Linked DNA regions of Homo sapiens: region 2 is linked to region 1. Evidence: promoter capture Hi-C in 16 types of primary human blood cells and fetal thymus (Javierre and others, 2016). All regions are on one chromosome and are shown on one strand. The core of a region is centred on a gene start or on the middle of the fragment in contact, and the rest is flanking DNA. Distances in the headings are between cores, read along the strand shown. Region 1 holds the start of TSPAN16 (tetraspanin 16). Region 2 holds the start of CNN1 (calponin 1).

Region 1 (3,402 bases), core at 641-3,140:
TTCCCAGACCTCCTTTGCCCCCTACATTTTCCAATGCTCTCTTGCATGCCCATTTATCACCCTCTTTTGTGCCCCCATTTCCAGGCCCTCAGCCCCTGGTTCTGAGGTTCCTTACTTCAAATGACCTTTTTTTTTTTTTTTTTTTTTTCCTGAAACGGAGGAGTCTCCCTCTGTCTCCCGGGCTGGAGTGCAGTGATGTGGTCTCGGCTCACTGCAACCTCCGCCTCCCGGGTTCAAGAGATTCTCCTGCCTCAGCCTCCCGAGTAGCTGGGACTGCAGGCACCCGCCACCACAACCGGCTAATTTTTTGTATTTTTAGTAGAGACAGGGTTTCACTGCATTAGCCAGGATGGTCTCGATCTCCTGACCTCGTGATCTACCCACCTCGGCCTCCCAAAGTGCTGGGATTACTGGCGTGAGCCACCGCGCCTGGCTTCAAATGACCTCTTAAATAAAGGTGTGGAAGGACACACTCCTGGCTGTGAACAGCACCCGTGGTCCAGGAGGAGACAGCACTCCTCTGTGAACATCTTGCTTAGTTCTACATGTTCCAAGAAGCAGGCGATTTGACAGACATTCATTAAATTAATTAAAGTGTAAGGTATTTTCTCCCATTTGAACCATCCGCCTTCCCCCAATCCATGCAGGACCTGGACCCAGACACACCCCAGCCCAGGGCTGGACAGAGAGGGGATCGGGGTGGGGCAATGTGAAGCTGCTATGGTTAGGGTGGGGAGGTATGGGGGCAAAGTGGGCTACAGACTGCAGGATCTAGGCCTGGAGGTCTTCAGTGCTGACATACAGAAGGTTTTTGGTCCTGAAATGCTAACTACATCTATCACCATGGAGAAAAGCCCAATGACCTGCTACTTGGGAGGCTAAGGTGGGAGGATCACTTGAGCCAGGGAGGTCGTGGCTGCAGTAAGCCATGATCACACCACTGCACTCCAGCCTGGGCAATGGAGCAAGATCCTGTCTCAAAAGAAAAAAACCCAGTGACCAATGGCTCACAGTTCCAGGACTCTCTGCCTTACAGGTTCCTGCCCTCATGTTACTCTTGGGGCTTCAAAGCCTGGTCTTGCTTCCTGTGTGGCCTCAGGCAGTTCCCTTGGCCTCTCTGAGCCCTGTATGAAGGATGGGCCAAGTATGGGCTTGGGCTTGGGAGGCCCGGTGGCTTGTAGCTAGATTTCTGCATCACAGAGCCTCTGGATCCATTCATTCATTCTCCGCGGGTTTCTTAAGTACTGCAGTGCCAGGCTTTGGGGACACAGCTGTTTTTGTTTTTGTTTTGTTTTGTTTGAGACAGAGTCTCACTCCGTCAACCAGGCTGGAGTGGAATGGCACGACCTCAGATCACTGCAACCTCCACCTCCTGGGTTCAAGTGATTCTCCTGCCCCAGCCTCCCAAGTAGCTGGGATTATAGGCGTGTGCCACCACACCCAGGTAATTTTTGTATTGTTTGTATTGTTAGTAGGTCTCAAACTCCTGACCTCAGGTGATTCGCCCGTCTCCGCCTCCCAACATGCTTTGACTACAGGTGTGAGCCACTGCGCCTGGCAGGGGTCACAGCTGTTAATAGGACAGCCCAAGTTCCCCCCTCCCCCGCTTGGATCCCCCAGTCTACTAGGAGATGTCAACTGTGCAAGTGGTTAGCTCTGGGCACTATGCCCACAGGGTCCTGGTGGCATCTGGAGGGTACCAGGGTAGCATACCATGCCTGTTCTCTTTCCCTGCTGTGACCTGTTTGAAGGATGAGGAGCCAACAGGGGGCAGTTTGGGGCACCTGATTTCCCTGGACCATGAGCCTTGCTCCAGAACCCAATTGTGATGTGATAAAAGGCTTATGACCAGGGCAGGGGGCAGCTGCTGGGCCGCCTTGGACAACCATCAGGCAGCCAGGACACAGAGGGGCAGAGCAAGTCAGCATTGGCGCCCCTTCCTCAGATCCCTATCATCTTGGGAAACAGTAGCCCAGAGGTTCAGGAAGATGTTAACTTAAATGTTCAGGGTGCCCCAGTCTGTTCAGCATGGCTGAAATCCACACTCCGTATTCTTCCTTGAAGAAACTGTTATCTTTACTCAATGGCTTCGTGGCTGTAAGTATGTCACAATCCAGGCCCCTGGTTTGTTGCAGCCCTTCCTCCACAGTCAGCTCCCTGAAAGACAGAAATAAGTTGATCCAAATTGGCATCGAGATCTGTGGTTCCCTGGAGAAGCAGGAGGGATGTAGGGCAGACGGAGGAGGAGGAGCAGGGAGCGTGGGGACCTCCATCAACCGAGAGCTGGTGAAATCCAGCACAGATGAGTGTGATCTGGGGGAGCCCAGGTGGGTGATGGAAGAGCTTGGCTCTAAGTCAAATCCTGTAGCCGACCAAGTTGTTTGGGAAGGCCAGGAGAAAGGGTTATTTTCTTGATCTTTTAAATTTGTCACATTTTTTTCCTTACCGTAAAAGTAACCCGAAATGTACATTGCTAAGGAATTGTCAGGCCGGGGGCGCTGGCTCATGCCTGTAATCCCAACGCTTTGGGAGGCCAAGGCGGGTGGATCACGAGGTCAGGAGTTCAAGACCAGCCTTGGTCAATATGGGGAAACCCCATCTCTACTAAAAATACAAAAAAATTAGATGGGCGTGGTGGCACGTGCCTATAATCCCAGCTACTCAGGAGGCTGAGGCATGTGAATTGCTTGAACCTGGGCGGCAGAGGTTGGCAGTGAGCCGAGATTGTGTCACTGCACTCCAGCCTGGGCAACATAGCGAGACTCTGTCTCAATAAAAAAATAAAAGAATAAAAACATAAAAAGAAGTAATTGTCTTCATTGTAGCATAGTCTAAGGAAAAGCTGCCAGGAAAGAGAAGGAAATGAAATATCACTCCTCCTCTTCACTTGTAACATTTTAAAGAGAATTAAGGCCGGCTGTGGTGACTCATGCCTGTAATCCCAGCACTTTGGGAGGCCGAGGTGGGCAGATCCATTGAGCCAGGAGCTCGAGACCAGCTATAGTGAGATCCCCATCTCTATTTAAAAAATAATAATACAAAATAAAGTGTTATTGGAACATGGCCGTGCTCACTTATTTGGAGATTGTGAACAGCTGCTTTTGGGCTACACCAATAGAACTGCGTAGTTTCAACAGACACCTTAAGTCCTGCAGAGGCCACAACATCTGGGTTTTTCAGAAAAAAAAAATTGCTAATCCCTGTCCTATGACATTATTTTATTTTATTTTATTTTATTTTATTTTGAGACGGAGTCTTGCTCTGTCACCCAGGCTGGAGTGCAGTGGCATGATCTCAGCTCACTGCAACCTCCACCTCCCAGGTTTAAGCGATTCTTCTGCCTCAGCCTCCTGAGTAGCTGGGATTACAGGTGCCCACCACCACGCCCGGCCAATTTTTGTA
Region 2 (3,402 bases), core at 465-2,964, 240 kb after region 1:
CCAAGCCCCCGTGCCTCAGTTTCCCCACCTGTAAAGCAAAGTACTTGTATTAATAATAACAGTGTCAGCTGGGCACGGTGGCTCACGCCTGTAATCCCAGCACTTTGCAAGGCCGAGGTGGGCAGATCAACTGAGGTCAGGAGTTCGAGACCAGCCTGGCTAACATGGCAAAACCCCGTCTCTACTAAAAATACAAAAAATAGCCAGTCGTGGTGGCAGACACCTGTCATCCCAGCTACTTGGGAGGCTGAGGCAGGAGAATCGCTTGAACCCAGGAGGTGGAGGTTGCAGTGAGCCGAGATAGCATCACTGCACTCCAGCCTGGGGAATAGAGACTCTGTCTCCAAATAATAATAATAATAATAATAATAATAATAATAACAGTGTCCATCTCTGAGGGCGTCATGAGAATTGAATGGATATATGTACAGAGTTGGAACATGGCCTGACATAAGGGCTGTAGTCTGTGGCATATTGCAGCCATGCCATTAGCATGTGACCGATAAACTGCATATCCTCAACATATCATTAGTGTGTGGCAGGTTGCAGACATGTCATCCAAGTGTCACAAACATGGCCTTGCCATGTGGGGCATGATGTGGGCATAGCATCCACCCCTGTGGTCCAGGGGTGAGATCTGGCTGGGTAGGGCTGTTTGACAGGGACACAGTTCACGGCCTGGGACTTGCCAACAAAGTCACCCTGTAGTTCAGGTGACACACAAGTGGATGGGGAGGGTGAGACCCAGGATCTCTTCTCCCCCAGGTCCTTATGAGGGGCTGGAGGAGACAGAACTGGGGTGCTGGACCCTCAGCATAAAGAATGCTATAGGCTGGGCATGGTGACTCATGCCTGTAAATCCCAGCGTTTTGGGAGGCCAAGGCGGGCAGATTGCTTGAGCCCAGAAATTTGAGACCAGCCTGGGCAACATAGCGAGACCCCGGGCAACATAGCGAGACCCCATCTCTAAAAAAATAAAATAAAATTAGCCAGGTTGGTGGCACAAGTCTGCAATTCTAACTACTTGGATGGGCTGAGATGGGAGGATCACTTGAGCCTGGGAGGTCAAGGCTGCAGTGAGCTGTGATTGTGCCACTGCACTCCAGCCGAGGGGACAGAGTGAAACCTTGCCTTAAAAAGACTGCTATGGCCCGAGTCCCTCTGCTGTGCCGGGCACTGTGCTGGGCATGTAACAGGCATATTCTTCTGATCTTTACAACTCTCCCATGAGGCAGGCACTATCGTTAGCCCATTTTACAGATGTGGCCATAGAGGCCCAGAGAGGAGAAGGGGCTTACCTAAGGCTATAGACTGTTGGTATCTGGAGATAAACCCGGGATGGTGCTCACTAAACTACCTTGGGTGTCAGTCCTGCTTCAAGACTCCAGAGAGATAAAGAGAGATGACCTCAGAGACAAAGAGACTCAGACCCAGCCAGAGGCCCAATGGACAGTGGGAGGGGTGGGTGGAAGAAGGCTGGTCTCTGTCTGACCAAGCCCCCCCAGAATAACGCAGGCTGCCCCCCTAGGTGGAAACAATGACACAATCAGCTCCCAATACCAAGGGCCTGACATCACAAGGGGAGGGGAAGGCAGCTGAGGTTGTGGGGGGAGGTGCCCCGCCCCTTGGCAGGCCCCTACAGCCAATGGAACGGCCCTGGAAGAGACCCGGGTCGCCTCCGGAGCTTCAAAAACATGTGAGGAGGGAAGAGTGTGCAGACGGAACTTCAGCCGCTGCCTCTGTTCTCAGCGTCAGTGCCGCCACTGCCCCCGCCAGAGCCCACCGGCCAGCATGTCCTCTGCTCACTTCAACCGAGGCCCTGCCTACGGGCTGTCAGCCGAGGTTAAGAACAAGGTAGGGCTGGAGGGCCTCCCTGGCCTGGCCCACACGTCCTGCCAGGCCAGAGCCCTGAGCTTGGGGTCCCTTGAACCCCCTCCTGCCTATCCTATGTGACTTGGAAACTGAGAGGGGAAAAGGGAGTGATATGGGATAGGGGCTGCCTGTCTCCCCCTGAACATCCCGGAGCCCCCAGCTATGGTTGGGGCTGGAATGGGGGGGCACACAGCCACACATAAACAGAGGGGGTCAGTCCATTGCAAAGATACCCACCTGATCAGTCTTCTGTTAACCCTTCGTGTTCTTGGGGGGAACAACATAGGGGGAAGACTTGTTGATTTTTCCATATCCCCCGGCCTGACAAAGAAATTGGGGAGCGCTTGAGTGCTGGGGTACCTGGGAAGTGACGCCGTGAAAGTGTGGGAGATCCTGAAGACAGAGGGGGACGGTGAAAGGCAGGAAGCGGGCATCAGAAGTGCGGCAGGGGTCTCCTGACTGTGGAGCTAGGAAGATACCTGGACACCACCTTCATGCTATGGTTGGGTAAACTGAGGTTCGGAGAGGAGAGGCAAATAGCTGGGGTCCCAGGTAAAGCAGGTACAGCGCTCGGACCCTGGACTCACCCCCCATACACCAGGATGGGCTCAGCTTCTCCCAGCTGGAGAACTTTAAGTTTCCAGCCCACTGGAATCGCCCCAACAGTATTGCCGAGGGAGGAGTTCCTGCCCCATTTGACAGAGGGGAACACTGAGGCTCAGGGTGGCTTTTCCCAGGGTCCCATGGTGAGGAAGTGGGGGACTGGGTTGGAACCTGGGTCGAGGGATCTCGGGGCTGGAGGAGGGGGCTGGTGGGGGGCGGGTCCTCGGGCGAGAGACAGATCCCAGCGCCGCCCTCCTCCCCCCCAGCGCCGGCCCCAGAGCCGCGCAGAGCCGCGCAGAGACGCCGCGCCTTATAAGGCGGCCTCGGGGAGCCCGGGCCACGCTATATAAGGGCCGGTTTGCTTTATAAAGCCGGGCTGGTGGCGTGGGGGGCGGCAGGGCCAGGGCCAGGTGAGGGGGCCGCCCCTCCCACCTCCCCCCACTCACCCGGGAGAAGAAGAGGCAGCCCGGTCCCCTAGGGGCTGGGAGCCTGGCTGGGCTTGGGCGGAGGGTTCTGGAGAAATGGGAGTGGAGTGGGGGAGGGGGGGGACAGTGGAGAGAGGGAAAAGCAGGGAGGTGGGGGGAGAGGCAGACAGAGATACTGGGAGCCTGAGACACCCTAGGGACAGACGGGGGAGGGCGAGCCAGGAGCGAGATAAGACCTAGACAAGGATGGAGGGGCAGGGAGAGGAGACAGAGCCCCACCACCCCCACCCCAGGCAGGAAACCTGGAGACAGAGAAAGACCTAGAGAGGCAGATATACAAGACCCAGGAGCCCTACCCCTGGCCAGACAGGGACTAGCCACCTAGAGAGATGGGGACCCAAGACTGGGCCAAGAAAAGACAGCGCTGGGGAAGAGAGAGACAGAGGAGTCGGGGGGATAAGAGGGAGAGAGACATACAGACGTGCAAGGGGTGGGGGCTAAG

What was found. The method cuts DNA at HindIII sites, captures the fragments that hold promoters and counts their contacts. A CHiCAGO score of 5 or more calls a contact.
Region 2: the fragment with the promoter of CNN1 here is called in contact with the fragment with the promoter of TSPAN16 in region 1 in 14 of 17 cell types (neutrophils, M0 macrophages, endothelial precursors and 11 more); the score reaches 14.2 in neutrophils.

The regions. Positions count from the first base shown.
Region 1 is chr19:11,294,270-11,297,671 of GRCh38, forward strand. TSPAN16 (tetraspanin 16) reads left to right here and starts at 1,891. Exons shown (of 7, transcript NM_001282509.2): 1 at 1,891-2,097. The coding sequence starts at 2,029. The HindIII fragment of the contact is 19,527 bases long and covers 1-3,402 here.
Region 2 is chr19:11,537,137-11,540,538 of GRCh38, forward strand. CNN1 (calponin 1) reads left to right here and starts at 1,715. Exons shown (of 7, transcript NM_001299.6): 1 at 1,715-1,854. The coding sequence starts at 1,792. RefSeq lists an enhancer at 686-1,631 and a silencer at 2,691-2,740. The HindIII fragment of the contact is 23,519 bases long and covers 1-3,402 here.